6 separate regions of the Homo sapiens genome follow, and all the other regions are linked to region 3. The links are contacts of gene promoters, found by promoter capture Hi-C in blood cells and fetal thymus (Javierre and others, 2016). All regions are on one chromosome and are shown on one strand. Each heading gives the region's core, a stretch centred on a gene start or on the middle of the fragment in contact. The rest is flanking DNA. Distances are from core to core; before and after follow the strand shown. Region 1 has its middle 44 kb from the start of AGPAT4. Region 2 overlaps PRKN (parkin RBR E3 ubiquitin protein ligase). Region 3 holds the start of MAP3K4 (mitogen-activated protein kinase kinase kinase 4). Region 4 has its middle 5.8 kb from the start of AGPAT4. Region 5 overlaps AGPAT4 (1-acylglycerol-3-phosphate O-acyltransferase 4). Region 6 overlaps PRKN (parkin RBR E3 ubiquitin protein ligase).

What was found. The method cuts DNA at HindIII sites, captures the fragments that hold promoters and counts their contacts. A CHiCAGO score of 5 or more calls a contact.
Region 1: a fragment that was not itself captured here is called in contact with the fragment with the promoter of MAP3K4 in region 3 in 4 of 17 cell types (monocytes, endothelial precursors, activated CD4 T cells and 1 more); the score reaches 5.9 in monocytes.
Region 2: a fragment that was not itself captured here is called in contact with the fragment with the promoter of MAP3K4 in region 3 in 1 of 17 cell types (monocytes); the score reaches 5.9 in monocytes.
Region 4: a fragment that was not itself captured here is called in contact with the fragment with the promoter of MAP3K4 in region 3 in 2 of 17 cell types (fetal thymus and monocytes); the score reaches 6.2 in fetal thymus.
Region 5: a contact is called between a fragment that was not itself captured here and the fragment with the promoter of MAP3K4 in region 3, in 1 of 17 cell types (fetal thymus). The highest score is 5.3, in fetal thymus.
Region 6: a contact is called between a fragment that was not itself captured here and the fragment with the promoter of MAP3K4 in region 3, in 4 of 17 cell types (M2 macrophages, monocytes, endothelial precursors and 1 more). The highest score is 8.2, in M2 macrophages.

Annotation. Positions count from the first base shown.
Region 1 is chr6:161,316,785-161,319,897 of GRCh38, reverse strand. No RefSeq gene overlaps it. Among named protein-coding and RNA genes, the nearest start is that of AGPAT4, 44 kb to the right of the region's middle. The HindIII fragment of the contact is 3,467 bases long and covers 1-3,113 here.
Region 2 is chr6:161,397,288-161,400,446 of GRCh38, reverse strand. The region is part of intron 9 of PRKN (parkin RBR E3 ubiquitin protein ligase); the gene reads left to right. Among named protein-coding and RNA genes, the nearest start is that of AGPAT4, 120 kb to the right of the region's middle. The HindIII fragment of the contact is 2,510 bases long and covers 450-2,959 here.
Region 3 is chr6:160,990,509-160,993,466 of GRCh38, reverse strand. MAP3K4 (mitogen-activated protein kinase kinase kinase 4) reads right to left here and starts at 1,698. Exons shown (of 27, transcript NM_005922.4): 1 at 1,384-1,698. The coding sequence starts at 1,535. MAP3K4-AS1 (MAP3K4 antisense RNA 1) reads left to right here and starts at 1,125. Exons shown (of 1, transcript NR_174962.1): 1 at 1,125-2,958. RefSeq lists silencers at 893-1,022, 936-1,230, 1,693-2,022 and enhancers at 1,291-2,160, 2,113-2,182, 2,203-2,262. The HindIII fragment of the contact is 10,290 bases long and covers 1-2,958 here.
Region 4 is chr6:161,278,330-161,281,414 of GRCh38, reverse strand. No RefSeq gene overlaps it. Among named protein-coding and RNA genes, the nearest start is that of AGPAT4, 5.8 kb to the right of the region's middle. The HindIII fragment of the contact is 5,594 bases long and covers 1-3,085 here.
Region 5 is chr6:161,255,602-161,258,694 of GRCh38, reverse strand. The region is part of intron 1 of AGPAT4 (1-acylglycerol-3-phosphate O-acyltransferase 4); the gene reads left to right. Among named protein-coding and RNA genes, the nearest start is that of AGPAT4, 17 kb to the left of the region's middle. The HindIII fragment of the contact is 1,063 bases long and covers 893-1,955 here.
Region 6 is chr6:161,381,105-161,384,066 of GRCh38, reverse strand. The region is part of intron 10 of PRKN (parkin RBR E3 ubiquitin protein ligase); the gene reads left to right. Among named protein-coding and RNA genes, the nearest start is that of AGPAT4, 110 kb to the right of the region's middle. The HindIII fragment of the contact is 483 bases long and covers 1,339-1,821 here.

The DNA.
Region 1 (3,113 bases), core at 366-2,865, 330 kb before region 3:
ATAGTTACTAGTATTCTTATTATCAATGTCTTTTATTTTATCCTGTAGGAAATTATTCACTTGTACAAATAAAATAGAACTACTTGGGATTTTTAAAAATGATCCTTCCCTCCTTCATTTTGGGTAATATTTGAAGAACCACTGTTCAGGAGAAAATACCATTAATTTAGACCAAGAAATGTCCACAAGATTCATGTGGACAAAGGAAACACATAATAAAGAAAACCTAGAGTTTGCAAAACAAATAGAACTTGATAACTGTGGTACCTCTGCCCTGAGCTTCCAGTCTCCTTCCCCCTAACTTTATGAGCAGTGAAAACTTCATATCAAATGTACCCTGGAAGACGTTTTCCAGGAAAAGAAAGCAACCCCCTTGACTAGACAATGAGCAGTTGTCAAGCTGCTAGGGACCGATTTGTTCCTAGATCCAGATGGGGACTGGATCCAGTTCCCATGCAGCTGTGCACAGCAACTGATCTTCTCAGATGTGGAACAATGAGGCTTTCATCAGGACATATCCTATGGTGAGTGCTAGACAGAACTCAAAGGCTGGAGATGGAGAGGGATAGTGTTGAGAGCTGGGGAAGGGTTAAAAAACTCACCCTCTAACCTGAAGAGTCACATTACAGGTTTTCAAACACATTGGTTAGTAGAGAAGGAGGCCAAAATGAAAAACAGAAAATTCTTCATAACCTGGAGTTTCTAAAGTGCAGTGCTCTTCATTTCAAAGTTTATAACGCAATCAGCACTGAACCAATGCTGTTTCATAGAACACTTTAAGATAATTGCTTTGATGAGCCCACAGAACTTATTTAACAACTTGCTGCTGATATCATTATGCTAAAACTTGGGATGCGTATGAAATTTTGGAAGAAAAAAGGAAAATAATAAACCGTCGGATTGGGAAAAGAGATTGAAATCCAGCTATTTCTTCTAAGTTGTGATAGTAAGTAGTCATGATTATTAGATATATCTCTTTCATGCCTCACTTTTTCAGTGCCCTCCTCCCATACTTAGGATACATCGCTAAAGTTGCTAGGAAGACAGGGCTGAATACACAGCCCTGCCCTTGGCATACATGGTCTAATTTCAAGGGATTGCTTTAAATAGAATTCTCTGCTAGAGCTAATCGGTGTCAAATATGAGAAGAAAATTATCCTTTCATAGAAGGGGAAAGTCTGCCTTCGTTCAATGGTGTGCCTGTGCAATGATCGTGCCGTCAGGTTTCACAAAAGCCTCTTTGTACCGAACACTGCTGATGCAATGAATGTGACCACAGTAGAGCCTGTGCCCTCTTTTGTTGCTGAATGTAGACTCCTACAATGCAGTGCCACCTACTTCCCCGGCTTTGTTTTCATAATAACTGGTTTGCATTTTTGGTACTTTAACCAAGTGTTGTAGCCCAGTGCTTTTAAGATCTATGATTAACAGGAATTTTAATATGTTGTATTTTGAATAGGTTTGCCAAGCTCCTGACGGTTTCCCTAATCACCAGGAACTTAAATATCACCAAACTGCTCACAAAGAGCCTCAGCTGCAAAATGCATATCCTGCCAGGTGTAAGGTTTCTGTCTAGACCAATGAGAAGGGCTTGAAGGTCACTGAATTCCCACATGGGGTCATGCACCTTTCCACGTCCTGAAGACACATCAGAAAGGATTTTCACATTTATGCATCCATTCTTTCATTCATTCAACTCCCTAAGTTATTTGGGGCCTTATGTGTGACATCTCTTGCTAGATCCTGAGTGGAGCAGGTTAAGCAGAGAGGGGCAAAAGAGCAGAATCAAAGGTAAAGATTACATCATCTCTGGAAAAAAAACGAGCTCTAGAAGACATTGTGTTAGATCCTACTATTGTGGCAATGTATAATTCCCAAAGAGTATAATTATATTGTAATTGAGTAGGAGAATGTCATTATTCTTGAGAGATATATATTTAGGGGTGAAGTATCATGATGTCTACGACATCAAACAGTTTGGCAAAAAGTATATACATATGTGTGTGTATATGTACACATACAGATTCCACTGTGGTCACGTTTGTTGGATCAGCAGTGTTTGGGTACAAAGAGGATTTTGTAGAACCTGACAGCACGATCATTGCCACTATATGTACATATACACATACACATATGTATATATACACATAAGCACACACACACATATATATAATGTGTATATACTGTGTACATACAGTCATGCCTCTCTTAACAATGAGGATATGTTTTGAGAAATCCATTGTTAGGGCCAGGTGTTTTGAGAAATCCATTGTTACGGTGGCTCACACCTGTAATCCCAGCACTTTGGGAGGCTGAGGAGGGCAGATCACCTGAGGTCAGAAGTTCGAGACCAGCCTGGCCAACATGGAAACTCCGTCTCTACTAAAAATACAAAAATTAGCCAGACATGGTGGTGCACTCCTATAATCCCAGCTACTGGGGAGGCTGAGGCAGGAGAATCGCTTGAACCCAGAAGAGGGAGGTTGCAGTGAGCCAAGATCACGCCACTGCACTCCAGCCTGGGCAACACAGCAAGACTCCGTCTCAAATTAAAAAAAAAAAAATGCATTCTTAGGCAACTTTGTTGTGTAAACATGTTAGAGTACACTTACACAAACCTAGATGGTATAGCCCATGAGGCACCTGTTTCTCTCAGGCTACCAACCTGTACAGCATGGGACTTTACTGAATACTGTAGATAATTGTAACACAACGGTTTTTGTGCATCTAAACATAGAAAAGGTGCAGCAAGGGCTAGGAGCGGTGGCTCATGCCCATAATCCCAACACATTGGGAGGCCAAGGTGAGTGGATCACCTGAGGTCAGGAGTTCGAGACCAGCCTGGCCAACACGGCAAAACTCCGTCTCTACTAAAAATACAAAAACTAGCTGGGTGTGGTGACGGGCACCTGTAATCCCAGCTACTAAGGAGGCCGAGGCAGGAGAATTGCTTGAACCCAGGAGGTGGTTGCAGTAAGCCAAGATCATACCACTGCACTCCAAGCTGGGTGACAAGAGCAAAACTCCATCTCAAAAAAAAAAAAGGTACAGCAAAATCCAGTATACAGTATAAAAGAAAAAAATTGGTACACCTGTGTAGGGCATTTACTCTG
Region 2 (3,159 bases), core at 455-2,954, 410 kb before region 3:
AATTCCAGCTACTTGGGAGGCTGAGGCAGGAGAATTGCTTGAACCTGGGAGGTACAGGTTGCAGTGAGCGGAGATCGTGCCATTGCACTCCAGCCTGGGTGACAAGAGTGAAATTCCATCTCAAAAAAAAAAAAAAGATTAGGTTTAATTTTCTAATCTTCCCCATGTCCCCAGCTCACCTCATCCTACTTTCTTCTAAAATATTGGAGGTGTTCTGTCGCTTTTGTTCTGTGGACCCTTAACTGAACTCTGCATCGTGCAAGGAGTCCTCAGACAGCAGGGTCCTTGTAGACCTGCGCAGTCCAGCGTGGTGGCCAGCATGGTGGCCACTAGCCCTGTGAGGCTCCTGTCCAACATGGTGCCCACGTGAGGCTCCTGAGCCCATAGAATAGGGCTAGTCCCAACTGAGATGCATTGAAAGAGTAAAAGCAGACCCGATTCCAAAAGCTTAGTAAAAATGAATATAAAATAACTCATTACCAATTTTTATATCGATTGCATGTTGAAATGATACAATTTTGAATATATTTAGTTAAGTAAAATATTGAAATTAATTTTACTTGTTTCTTTTTCCTCTTTTCATATAGCTACTAGACCATTAAAAATTATTGCTGTTTCAATTGGACAGCACTGTTCTAGGCTGTATCCTTTCACGGTGGTTTCAAAATCAAAAAGACAAAAGTGTTGCAGAATTACACTAGCAGAGTGAATTACACTAGAATGCTGGCATCATCCCTAGCACTGGGATTGGTACTTTCTGGGGGCTATCATTTCCAGCAAACTCCATTGGTCCCAGTTCACCTTCCTCTTCTTACTGCTGAAACGGGAGAGTTCCCTGACCCACCCCGGTTGCAGGACATGCAACAGGCATATGGCTCATCAGTTCAGCCACCACCACTGCTCAAACTCCTTATGGGAGGGGGAGCATGCAGATGAGCAGGTGCAGGAGCCAGGACGAGCACTTCTGGGCTCTGGCCCCACAGTAGTGTCTAGGGATGGGTGCCTGTGACTCCCAAAGCCCAGTTAGCTGTGTGTTACAGTGCGCTCTTTTAATTTTGCTGTCTGCAGACAGCTTAAGTGTTAAACAGCTCAGTGGACCCTCTGCCTTTTTGCAAGGGCAGAGGGCCAGTGTGACAGCTTTCCATATTCCAAGTTCTTGTCTGGCATCCAGAAAAATCAGGTCACCCATGGACTTGAAGGATGGTGACTGCAGGGTTTTATTGAGTGGTGGATGTGGCTCTCAGTGGGATGGATGGATGGGGAGCTGGAAAGGGGATGGAGTAGAAAGATGATCTTCCCCTGGAGTTGGGCCGTCCAGCAGCCAATCTCCTCTCTAACTGTCTGCAGCAGAACTCCTCTCGACATTCAGATATTCCTTCTCTTCTCTCCTCTGCTGCTCTTCTGCTCATGGAGCCTGGGGTTTGGAGTTTATATAGGGACAGGATAGGGGGGCATGACAGGCCAAAAGGCAACATTTGGGTGTGAAAACAGGAATGCCTGTTCCCATTTAGGGCCATGGGTTTCCAGGCTTGAGGGTCAGGCCTTTGCTGGGGAACTGCCCTCTTCTACCCAATATTTCCCTGTCTCCTGTCTGTAACCTCCTCATCTCCTCACTACAACCTGCACCTCCCAGGTTCAACACTGTGCTCCCATGGAACCTCACATCCATCATATGATCAGGACACAGCTGACTGTGAACTCTGTGAGGCCATGAAGAATGGCCAGTGCCTTACCATTCACACACAGTACATGCTTGATGAGTACTTGTGGAATGGAGGGAGCATTGGGTAGAGCAAGGGAGAGGTGAATTGTGACTCCTCTGAAACTGGAAATTACATACGTTCTGCATCTTTGCAGGCTCCAGCAATGCACAGCATACATTCTGAGTGGAGTTCCTGAGTAGGAACTTTTGGTTGAATGAATGAGCTAGAACAGGGTCTCTAAATGGTGCATACAAGTCACTCGGGGATCCTGGTAAAATGAAAGATTCTGGTCTAGTACTTCTTGGGTGGGGCCTGAAATTCGGGTTTTCTGACATGCTCCTGGGTGATGCTGATGGTGCTAGTCTGGGAACCACATTCTAGGGAACTAACTAGAGCCAGTGCTGTGATGTGAATTTAGTTATCAACATGGATGGGCGTCCCTTCAATTCATGTCTCATGGATGCTCCAACTGACAGTAACTGTTTCAGCCTCCTCTCTATCTGTGACTCTCCTCTCCCCCTAGACTCCAGAAGATTCAGAGCTGCTATGGTGCTCTGTTAGGAAGACCAAGGGCATGGGTGTCATCTCCTTGAGAAAACTCTCTCATCAATGTGACTCTCCTAGGATTTTGCTGCAAAACCTTATCCTCCTCCATTGAAAGCCATAAACCTTTGAGTGTGTCTCCCTAGCCTCGACTTTCTCTGGGACTTCACTCCCATCCTGCCCCCTCTCTGGCTAGCGTCTTCATTCTCTCTCTTTTCATCATCTTTTGCTGTTTTCAAACTGATTCAGAGCTCTCTGTTGTGAAGCCTTTTCCACCCCATCATGCCTGTGATCTTAGCCTCTGAATCTAGCTGACCATTGAACCATTGGACCAAAATTATGGCCTCCGAGGTCACTAAAGTACTTTCCCTGGCAGAAAGTCTTAGTTATTCCTCTTGTACTCAGGATTGACCTCTCCATTCTCAGTACTGGGTTTCCTCAGCACTGTGCTATCCTCTTCTGCTTCTCAGAAGTTGAGGCTTTTCCAGCTACTACTGCTTGTTTATTCTGCAAAGGTTTGATGATTGCCATTATTCTGTTAGGTCCTTGCAACTTCATGATAATCACGTGGAATTAGAAGTGACTTGAATTTGAGGTGACTGCAACCTATCCAAATGGAAATATGCAATAGGCAAAGTGCATCTTAAAAGAGGAGTTGGGAAGGGTGGAATAGATTTTGAGAAGTTGTTAGAAGAGAGGCAGTCAATTAAGCTTGATGTTAGAATGCTCCCTGAAGGGGCAAATGTGAAGGGCAGAAAAACAAATGCTATCTCCACGTGCTCTTACCCACTGACCTCAACCCGCCTGGATCTCTTCTATGGGACCCTTAAGACTTACACAAGAATACTCAATTCAACCCATGATTGTGCATTGTATCATGGAGTACACAATTGTCCTTCAGCTCTTTTATGCT
Region 3 (2,958 bases), core at 449-2,948:
CAGGACCTACCTCATAGAGTTGTTGAAAAGATTAAATGGGTTAATAGAAATAAAGACAATGGCCTATTTTAACCGTTAAGTGTTCACTATTAATTTTAAAGAAAAAGGTATCAAAATTGCTCGAAAACTGATCCGTTAACAAATTTATAATAAACTTTCTGACAAAATTTCTAAAAATACTAGATGTATTCAAAAGGAACCAAAGGAATTCTCATTACACCCTGTACCATTATTCAGAGAAGTTGTTCCTTAGAAGTACCCAGAACTATCTCAGAATTAAAAGAGGCAACTAATTTCTTCACAGCTTATAAAAATAAAACAAATTTGTTTGGGCCAACTGAATGATGACAAGCAAGAATATGGCTCCTGTGTTCAGTTCTAACTACAGTTACAGGTGTGAATTTTCTTTAAGCAGGAAAAAGAGGACACTTTACTGCCTTATTCCTAGAACCATAGAGCAAGACCATAAGATGCCAAGAGGAGCTGCCGAGGTATTTTCATTACAGGGGACAGGGGGCAGCAGTTTGCAAGTTTACTCTGGGATGCAAAGGACAGGGAGTAAGAGGACATTTGAACATACAAACATAGGCACGTAAAAAGAGGGAAATTCTCAGTTATGGTGAGTTTGTTCTCTCAATTAAAAAAAAAATAAAGACATAAAAATAAGTTAATAGAGTATGGAAGAAAAAGCAACAAATGCTTTGGTTACCGAAGTTCCACCTTAGAGCTTCCTGCAGTAGCAAAGTTTTAGACAAATGAATCCTTACTTTTGTGCACGTGTGAGCAACAATCTGCACAATACTAGCACTAAAGGACAGTAAGGGGCCCTCAGAACAGGAAAGCAACGTATCTGTCTGCATAGTCTAAGTGCAATTTCTCACGGAAGAGATGACAGGCATTCTCTGGAGCGGGCAAAAGGAGAGGAGGAGGAGAACGCGGGGAAATAGCCAGTACGCACTCGATTTCCGAATGTCTCTTTTACTCGAATGAGGGCAGAGGGGAGGGACCACTTTCGTTCAGTAATGATGAGAGGCACTTCAGTGAGGCCACTCTTCCGAAGCTAGCGGCAGGGGAGGCAGCCGCACTCTGCTCCCAGCCCCCGCAACGTTGAGGGTGAGCTGGGGGAGTCTACAAGGGAAGGGGAGCCGGCAACACGCTCGAGCGGAACCCTGCGGAGCTGCAACCCCGGGAGGAGTCGCCGGACAGACTCAGACGCGGTCCCCTGGGACCCAGGGATGCACCGCGCCCCTCCCGCCCCAGCCTGCAGAGACTGGATGCTTCCCTCCCCACCTGGCGGGAAGCAGAGGCCCTCGGGCCCGACCGAGTTCGGGCCAGGACCCGCCCCGCTTTCTGCGAGCGACCGACTGCGGCCGCCACACTCACCTCGCCGCCAAGCAGCACTCGGGTTCTGACTCGGTCTCGGGTTCCGGTGGCGGTGGTGGCGGCGGCGGCGGTGGCGGCGGCTCCTCCATGGCGGCGGCAGGCGTGACGGCAAAGGCGGGAGGAGGGACCAGCGCGGCAGCGGCTTCTCTCATCCGTGCACGGAGCCCCGCATGGCCGCGGCGGGCAGTAAGCTGCAGCCTGGCGCGGGGCACCGGAGCCCCGAAGTGCGGGAGTGACTCGACTCCGCCTCCGCCTCTACCCCGCCGCAGGAGCCGTGCGCGCCGCGGCCATCTTGGAAACGGCGACCGGCCGAGCGCCGGGGCTACGGTGGGCGGCGAGGGACAAGCCTCCCAGATCGGCGGCGGTGGCGGCGGCGGCGGCGGGCGCCGGAATGCGACCGGACGGGGGCGGAGACGGCGGCAGGGAGGGGCGGGGAGCGCCGTCAAGTGTCGGCGCGATTCGGTCCTGGAGCCGGGTCTCGCCAGCTCGCCCGGTGTCGCCCCGGCCGGTGGCAGTGGGGGACTGTGGAGCGGAGCCGGGCTGTGCAGCGGGCTGGGAGCTCGAGGCTTCCCAGGCGGTCGTCGGTCTGGGAGGGACGCTGGGTAGGGCCGATGAGCGGGGCGGGCGCGACGCTATGAGCCCGGCCGGAGTCGCCGCCCAGGGACCTGCCACCCGGATCCCACCTTCCAGGAGGACGGACGTCACCCAGACGCTCGCAACTCCGGTCTCTTGACAGCGCAGCCTTCCACAGGCTCGAATTTTTAAGACTTGACATAAAGTCTCCGGAATTCCAGATTATTAAAGTGACCCCCTCATTTCAACCCGGCAAAACTTCTCACCCCAGTGTCATAAGATTCGATAGCGATCTCCCAGAAACTTGGACTGGAATGCTCCTACACTGAGGGGATGGGGGGAAGAAGAAATGCTAAAGATTATTTCAGAGTTACAGAAATCCTGTTGAAATTCCAATGCATCGTTTACTCTTAGCGCTGGGGCTTCACAGTTTTTTTTTAAGTTGGAAATATTTACAAAATTTCCCATAGGGTGAAATCCAGAGTTAATCCAAAACCAGAATCTTTTAAAATTAAGTACATTCAAATGTGCAGATTTCTTAAACCTCATTTAGTTGAGCTTTGATAGGTGAAACGCACGTTTTGAACAACTCTGGTAACAAAGAAAAACATTAAATTGATTATAGGTATGTTATATTTAAAGACCAGTTGTGAAATTAGCTATATTGTGCTCAAAGTATGTTACTGACATTTCTCCGTCGTTAAAAGGAACTGCTCCATTCTAGTTTTTTATAATAGTCTGTATTATGTATATAGCCTGATAGTGCTGAATTTCTGAATTGACCTTCATCTTATTTACTCAATAATATTCATTTGACAAATACTTATTAAGTGCATATATGTGTCAGGAACTGTACTAGATGCTGAGGATATAGCAGTAAGCGCAACAGACCAAGCTAACAGCTTAGTAAAGGGTGAGGTAAAACAAAACAAAAAAGTATTCAAAAAAATAAACTAATTTTTATCTTAATTTAAAAAATTACAAATTTTTAAAAATCACAAA
Region 4 (3,085 bases), core at 316-2,815, 290 kb before region 3:
GGGTTTGCTATCACGGGAGTGGGATACTGATAAAAGGATAAGTTTGGTCCTCATTTTCTCTCTGTCTCTCGTGCATGCTTCCTTACAATGTGATACCTTTGCCATGGGTTTACTCTCCCAGATGCAATGCCATGCTCTTGGACTTCGCAGTCTCTAGAACTGTGAGCCAAGTAAACCCCTGTTCTTTATAAGTGATCCAGTCTGTAGTAACCGGTTATAGCAGTGAAAAACGGACTCAGACAGTATGGAAAGAGATAAGAGATGAAACTAGAGAGAGAGAGAGAGAGAGAGAGAGCCAGATCATGAAACATCTTGCATGTCATTCTAAATAATTTGACTTTTCTCCTGAAATAAAAAGTAGAAGAAGAGGTTTCTTTGAAGTCATTCAAGAGTAGAGGGGCCCTGTACTAACCCAGGAGCAGTGGTGGTGAGAGGAGAGGACTTTGGAGAAATATCTTTGAGAAGAGAATTAACAGGATGCTTTGAGGGCTGTGAGGGAAGAGAATTAATAGGATGCTTTAGGGGTTGGTGGGGGGAAAAGAAGCAAGAGGAACAGGGAAGAATAGAAGATAACTTCAAAGTCATCAGTTGCACCAAAGTGTGGAACTAGAAAGTTGGGAAATTGGACCTCAGAGAACTGGCCAAGTTGGGGCCAAAGGTTTGTTTTTGGACTTGTTCAATTTGAGCTTCCTTTGGGACAGATAAATGAAGATATTTACCAGGTTATTGGATAACTGTCTGAGGTTTAGGGAAAAAATGCCAACTGGAAATATAGATCTGAAAGTTACCTGTATATTAATGGATGGGGTGAAGGGAGGAGGAAAGAGTGGTCATTTTTTGAGGTTCTACATTATTTCTGGTGCTTCACACATTCTGTCTCATTTGAACATCACAACTAGACCCATGAATTTTGTGTATAAGGAACGTTGAGTCTCCAAAACTTAAGAATTAGGACTCTGGTTGCAAATGACAAAGCTAGCTTAATGGTAAAATTTATTATAAGAATACAGGGGACTCTCGGGGTACCCAAATTCAGAGAGGAGAGCAGCATGTTCTCATTTTTGTTTTGCAAAACTCACTTTTGCAAAGGCTGTGGGTGAGAAGCAGACTGGAGGGGGCAAGAACAGAGACACGGAGGCCAGCTGGGATCCTTTTCTTTTCTGCTGCCTCTCTTGCAAATCAATCTTGAAGCTAAGTTTCATTGAACTAGACATAGCTTTGGCTTTAAACCAAGATAAAATGAGCGATCCTGGAGAAAAGATCTCCTATACCTTCTGCCAACTTTTGTCTGATAGTTGCCTAATTTCAGTGCTATTTTTTGGGTGTAAAACTGACTCTCTCTATATAAACTCAAAACGCATGTACTACAGATGGACTTTCAATGACACTTCGTAGAATGATCATGAGTTTAAGTAGAAATTGTCTTTTTACTCTTTCATGTTAATAGAATTTTGTTTCAGCCTTGCCTTTGGATCTGAAATCCTAGGAAATACAGTGGAAAGAATTCTGTGGTGAGAATCATTAAACACTGAGTCTGGTTCAGCGCTGCTTCCTGTTACTTGTGTGACCCTGGACAGGCAAACCCAGCCTCCCTGGCTCTGATCCCTCCTCTGTTAAATGAGGGATTTGGATTGACACGAGTACTTCTCAAACTTTAGTGAATCTTCTGGGGATGTTGTTAAAATGCAGTATGTATTCACCAGACCTGGGGTGGGGCCTGAGACTCTGCATTTCCAACAAGTTCCTAGGTGATACTGATGCTGCTGGCTCAGGATCGCACTCCAATTAGGCCACCCTCCAAGGTGCCATCATGCTGTAAGCTATAACAACTACCAAATAAAGAAAAGCATTATGTCAACAATGGATAACAATAAATACTTATTTTAGAAAATAAATATAGCTTTTTCTTTTTTTGAAACAGGGTCTTACTTTGTCACCTAGGCTGGAGTGCTGTGGCATGAACACAGCTCACTGCAGCCCCGACCTCCAGGGCTCAGGTATCCTCCTGCCTCGGTCCCCCAAGTAGCTGGGACTACAGGTGTGCACCACCATGGTTGGCTAATTTTTGTGTTTTCTGTAAAGACAGGGTTTTGCCATGTTGCCCAGGCTGGTACAAATATAGCTTTAGTTTTCTGTTTGTAAAAGTAATGCATGCTTACGAAAATTGTTCTTAAAAAAATCACATAGGCCGGGCGCGGTGGCTCACGCCTGTAATCCCAGCACTTTGGGAGGCCGAGGAGGGCGGATCACGAGGTCAGGAGATCGAGACTATCCTGGCTAACACGGTGAAACCCCGTCTCTACTAAAAATACAAAAAATTAGCCGGGCGTGGTGGCGGGCGCCTGTAGTCCCAGCTACTGGGGAGGCTGCGGCGGGAGAATGGCGTGAACCCAGGAGGTGGAGCTTGCAGTGAGCCGAGATCGCGCCACTGCACTCCAGCCTGGGCGACAGCGAGACTCCGTCTCAAAAAAAAAAAAAAAAAAAAAAAAAATCACATACCATGCAATGACAGTAAAAATCATCCCAAGTTTCATACCACTTGAACTAATGTGCTCTATTGTCACTTGGCTATGAAGAATACAAGTGCTAGGTTTCAGTATTGGCATCGTATTACCTTGTCTTTTAAAATCAGGTTGTGAAACTGGTATCTTTTTCAATTTGTTGCCAATCAGTTATGCGTTAATTGATTTGAATTCAGTTCCTTCTGTTGTGGTAGATTTGCTTCTGTATCGTATGATTTCAAGTTGCTCATTGCCTGAATTCAGGACAGGGTAGTGGGTGGCTTTCTGGGGCCATCTCAGGCGGGCTGAATTGACCTGAAGATGGCAATAAGAGAAAAAAGCCAAGTAAATATCAAGAACAATTTTTAGCATAAAATTCAGTGTTAAGATTCATTGAGAGCTAATCAATAGAAACGAAGGTTCTGTAAATACATCCATCTTATGGGAATAACTTAGGTCATAACCATTGTTGGCAAAGGAGGAAATTTTTCTTAGTTCCTCTGCACTTTCCCCAATGATATTAATGTTACACCTCTTTGATCGTACTTGAAATGATTGTAATAATAACGAGAGCCGTAAGAGTT
Region 5 (3,093 bases), core at 175-2,674, 270 kb before region 3:
TGGATGGTGTTTCTGTGTTTTTTGCGGGGAGTGGGGTGGGGAGGAGAAATAAGAACCATCTCCCAACATATATAGGTGGTGAAGTCCAAAGCTGAAGTTGCCCCAGATAAGAGAACTCTCCTGTTTTCTAGGACTGTGAGAGGTTATTGCTCTCTTGTGTCAATTTTAGTTGTGTTTTTTCTTTCTGTATTTTGCTTGTCTTATGATTCAAGACATGAACATAAATATACATTTGAAAATTTCCACCAAGAGGTGGAAAAGTTTATAGATTCAGAGAAGATAACTTTGTACAAAACAAAAGTCTAAAAATGGTTGTTGGATACTCTCAGGTATTTGGAGAATCTGCCAACCCGTTTGCAGGAAATTTGTTTTCAAATGGGAAAGGATAGAACAGCCTGAAGATGGGAGTGCAGTCATTTTGAGTTACTTCCGTTATTGCAGCCAAGGGAAGTCACTTTTTAGGGAAGACAATGGACGTAGAGTTTTCATCTCTGAACTGCCACTCTCAGTCTTTGAGGTCTCATGGAGGAAAAAAAGTGTCATAAGACTGGAGATAAGTAAAATTCCTTGTTTTTAAAAGTTGAGAAGTGTAAATACTAGAACTTTCATTCTGGCACGCAGGAGTTTTTTCCTTCCAAGTGTTTTAACGTAGGAAGTAATAAATGATCCCATGGAGCCAGGATGTGTGCGCCAAAACTAAATCATGTTGAGTTAACCTCACTTATTTCATTGGTACCGTTACTGGGTGAGTCAGTTGAGAAAGTGCCAGAGCAAGGGTGATCCTGTAAAGTAAACATTTGACAGACTGCGTCACCACATCCTTGTGTATATGATGGTGACCTGGGGATTGGGACCAGATGGGTTCATAGCTAATGGAACAACAGAATAAGCTTGTATTCACTTCCATATGAAATAGAAGGTGGGACTAACGCTGTCTTTCCTTTTTTTTTCTTCTCTTTCTCCTTCTTGTCCACATTCCTTTTTAATTTCCATGAAGAAAATTAATTTAAATTGACTTCTCATATTTCAAGAACCCTTTGATCATTTTTTTGATGTTGGATTTCAGCAGTTTTAAAAACTTCTGTCTTCATTTAATTTTTTAATGGCATTACTAAGATATAATTTACATACCATAAATTCACCCATTTTAAGTGTATAGTTCAATGAGTTTTGGTAAATTTGGCGTTGTGTAACCATCACCAAAATCCAGCTTAGAACGCCTCTCTCATCCCAAAAGTCTCCTCATGCCCACAGGATCCATCCTCACATGTGTCTGTAGCTCAGACAATCAGTGATCCAGTTTCTGTGTCTGTAATTTGGCCTTTGATAGGTATTGCCTATGAGTGGGATAATTCACTATGTATTGTTCTGTGTCTGGCTCTGTTCATTTAGCATAATATGCTTGAGATCCACCCGTGGCATGCATGGAGCCGGGACTGGTTCCTTCTTGTTAGTGGTCTTCCGTCCTGTGGCTGTACCATCTCTTGCTTCTTTATTCACCGGGTGATGGATATTTGGAACATTTTAGCATTCATCTAATTTTAAGTTTACTACTTTTATCCTGATCCAAAGTTCATGTTAGAAACAAGTGCTGTTTTCATTGCCACTTTCCCCCCATCTCCAACATCTCATTTAGGGCACAGGAAAATTCTTAGTAAGGACTTAGAGGAAAAGTGAAGACCTCTGCCTCCACGCCCACTGGCTAAGGTGGCTGGTCTGCAGGGAGCTCGCAACAGGCGTCTCCAACGTGATGCCAAAGGCTGACTTTTGGGAAAGTGGAAACTCTCCCAGACCTAAAACTGGAGAAAAGGCACATCCATTCTTGATGCCTGTCTTGTGGGCTTATTCGTCTCCTAGGCAGAATGCATGAAAATTTCAGTGTTGCCAAACTGATGAACCCATTTCTTTCCCTTCAATTATTTATCTCCCCACTGATTTCATTAATTAATGAAGCTTTTGGCAATCCACCAGATTTCTTTCGGGAACGCTCTTTGTCAGTGTCGACTGTGTACAGGCTGCAGGGACCGGGGGAGCCATCAGACGCCGTCTCTGCCTCCCGAGCCTGCTTCAGGGAGGACGTGTCAGCTCCGCTGTGTGGCTATCAGAGGAAGCTGGTTTCATAGCACGAGTGTCATGTCTGTCACGTATTTCAGCCCTGGAACTTCTCCCCACATTTCATGTGAACACAGCAAATGTGTTCATCCATGACACACGGCAGAGAGCAGCGCTGGTGGTGAGGAACATCAGCAGAGTGTTTAATCTCAGCTTTTCAAAGCAGCCTCACAGGAAGGAGAACAAAATATTTGATCCACCGAAGACTTTTCCCCAATCTTAGGCACAAAGCCTAATTCTTCTAGATGGTGGCGGTCGCTGCCGTCACCATGCGTGCCTGGGGTTGATTTCCTCTTGCCTGGGAAACTTAGGGTGTTAGCCAGGTTTTCGTATCCTTCCAGCTTTGCCCATTGCCTATACTCAGGATCCAGGGTAAGGGCCAGTCCTACTTAAGGACCAGTCTCCGAGATCATTTCAGTTGAGGGGGATCTGTTTTACTTCCTGCAAGTGCTGTGGTGGGCAGTAACATCCTGCCAACCGGCCTCGCCTGGACACCTTGCTCTGCCTGGGTGAGGGTGGAGTGGCTTTTTCCTGCAGGCTGAAACTCCCTGACTCCTTTCTGCAGCTCATTTCCTTCATCTAAACAGCATGTCCCTCTATGTGTTGACATGGCTGTGTGGACTGAAGGCTGACTCTGCTTATGTTTTGTCTTCTGTGGGGCCAGTGTTTTTTTCTTTGTTTTTACATACAGCTTTATTGAGATATAATTTATATACCATAAAATTCACCCATTGCAAGTGTGCAGTGCAATGGCTTTTTGTATATTCATGGTTGTGCGACCATCACCACTATCTACTTTGAGAGCATTTTTAGCACCTCAGAGAGAAACCGTACATATCAGCAGTCACTCCCCCATCCTGCCCCCTCCAGCCCTAGACAACCACAAGTTCACTTTCTGTCTCCATGCATTGGCCTAGTCCGAACCTTTCATATAAACCGAATCGTACCATATGTGGTGTTTTGTGACGGGTTTCTTTCATA
Region 6 (2,962 bases), core at 331-2,830, 390 kb before region 3:
CAGAAAGAACTCAGGATGAAGCAGCCCTGCAGTTAGACCCCCCCAGGAGATGAGGCTCTTCCTGCTTCTGGTTCCTGATCACAGGGCCAGCCTCCAATTCCTCTTATTTGAAAACAAAGCAAACCAACCAGCCAAACTAAAAAGATGTCTGCTGGTGAACAGTTGCCAGACAACGGAAAGCAACTAATTGGGGTCTTTGCTGCCATGTTTTCCTACGTCTCTGATTCGGTCAGGGTCCCTCGGGAGAGAGAAGCCAACCCAGATGGGCACAGGAGGAGATGTTAATGAAAGGGATGACCTGCAGAGGCGGGCTGGGGACACAGGAACCATCACAGGGCTGAGGGCCTCAGAGCGAGCATCACTGGGGAGCCATGACCACCCCAGGCCTGTAAAGGCAGGGGGAGGAAGAGTCCCATGAACCCCATGAGCTGCAGCCATGGAGAAGGGGCCTCATGACAGGAGGTGTCATCACGGAGCATCCAGCGTTGCCTGGAAGTAGCCCCACACAGGAAGGGAGTGAGCATGGACATCTTGCCTCCTGCCTCCTGCCATCCGATCTCTTGCTAATGTCTCCCATGGGCCATACCCCACCGAAGCCAGACACAAGGGATCCTAGGGGCACAGCCCATGGGAGCCAGCCTTCCAGATGCAAAGCAGAGAGGGGAAAGAATACAGAATTACCAGCACCTTCTCTATGAGCGAATTTACCAATCTTCCCAAGTTTCCTTATTTCAACCATAGCTGCTTTTGGATGTGGGAAGGCACGAACCAAACAAGCTATTTCTTCAAATTTCATGACCCAATTCGATTTGATAACAGAATGAAGGGCTTTTATTTTCATAGAGCTGGCTTATTTTCTGTTCCCTACATTTCTCTCAAGCAGCATGGTCTCCAGGAGGATGACCTCTGCAGTTTCATTGACCTGAAATCTTTGAAAGGATGACACTCTACACATCTCACAATGAAAGCCCAATTGCAGCCTCCCTTGGAACCGAAGGCTTTAGATGTGTTCTCACATCTGAATTTTGCTAATAATAACTAAATACCCTCATCAGCCCTCTTCACACTTTCTTTCAATTCCATTCAGTTGCAGGGTTCTTTGCTTTGAGCCATTTGTGACTCGTTTCTGCTGTTCTTCCCTTTAGCATTGATTGGTTTCTGTTCTTGCACATTACATGCTCCAGCCAGGAGAGCCCATTTCTCTTGAGTCCCAATCAGCTTTTCCTATCAGTTAGACTGTTGGACCTAAAACTTAATGTATTTTTTGATTAATGCAATAATTCTTTAAAGCAAACTCAAAAATTGGCTTTAAATTGGTTTTAAAATATTGAACAAGCTTTACGTTGAAACTGCTGGGAGTTTGGGAAAGCAGTGACAGAAGATCAATCCATCACAGACTAACGAGAGTCCAGTCCCGTTTGCTTTCCTTGTTTTTCCCTGCTTGTTCTCCTCCCCGTGTTCCAGTTCCTTCCGCGTATTGCCCCTGGAGGCTTGCTAATAACTACACACTTGCTCTTGCAAAAGCCACATAAACTGGTTCTAGGTAGTTGATGTTCCTCTCCCTATTCAGCAGGAGTGCAGACTGAGACTTCCAGATTTTTAGTGGTGCTCTCTAAAGCCGCAGAAGAGATCAATTTCAGTGGCTATACTTTACCTAAGTAGTTGGGGATCAGCAACTGCTCTCTCTAATAGATCTACAGTGTCTGAGGGGAATGTGCCCATGCCTGCCTACCAACCATGCCTCCTGCTCAACATTCTAGGCCCAGATCATGTTACCTCCTCCCAGAAGCCATCTGCCCTCCCCACTACATCCTGTAAGCTTTCAGACAACTGTACATTCTGATACATTCGTCACTTGAAATATCGTTTCTCTGTATCTTCACAAAAAGTCTGGGCTTTGTTTTGTTTGTTTGTTTGTTTGTTTTTGTTTTGATTTTTTTTTTTTTTTTTTTTTTGAGATGGAGTCTCGCTCTTTCACCCAGGCCGGACTACAATGGCGCTATCTTGGCTCACTGCAAGCTCTGCCTCCCGGGTTCACGCCATTCTCCTGCCCCAGCCTTCCAAGTAGCTGAAACTACAGGCACCTGCTACTGCACCCGGCTAATTTTTTGTATTTTTGGTAGAGACGGGGTTTCACTGTGTTAGCCAGGATGGTCTCAATCTCCTGACCTCGTGATCCACCCGCCTTGGCCTCCCGAAGTGCTGGGATTACAGGCATGAGCCACTGCGCCCGGCCTAAAAAGTCTGGGCTTTGTTAGTGGAGGGTTTGTGCCTGTCGCATCCTGTATCCTGCAGTGCCTGGCACAGAGTAGGTGCTCATTAAGTGTTTGTTGAATGAATGACAAATCCCTCCTTCATCCACACACCTCCCTCCCTACCATGAAGCTGGGTAAGTACAGGAAAAGAATAGACAGTAGCTTCAGGGCTGGATTATGTCTCAGTAATCTTTTGAATCATAAAAGAAAATTAGATTTCCACAGTAAACCTCAGTTCCTTCCATCTGCCTCCTAAATTAGAAAAATAAACCCACCATTTGCTTGGGATAAATATAATAATTTGCTTGGGATATGCACTTGTATCGTGCTTGATTACAAAGCACTTTCACGTACACCATCTTATTCTGAGGCTTATCTCAAGTTTTTGTGATAGATTTTGTCCATAGGCAAGGGAGAGGGAGGGAGAGTGGCCACCCAGGGGCATAGAGTTGACAAGCCCCAGACCATTATTTTACCCAGGTCTTTGGGAGCTGCACCAGCCAGCACTGATGACCACTCCAGTCCCAGTGAAGCAGAAATGCGCTTCCATTGTTCTTACTGGTCACTCTGCCTTTTGAAAGAGGGGGATGAGTGGGCTGTTGTTGGCTTGTCAAACACAATACCAGGGATGGCCAACTCAAATGCCAACAGCAACACAACCCTTAAATGAGTGAGGCAGAGTTGAAGCCTGCTTCATGGACCTGTCA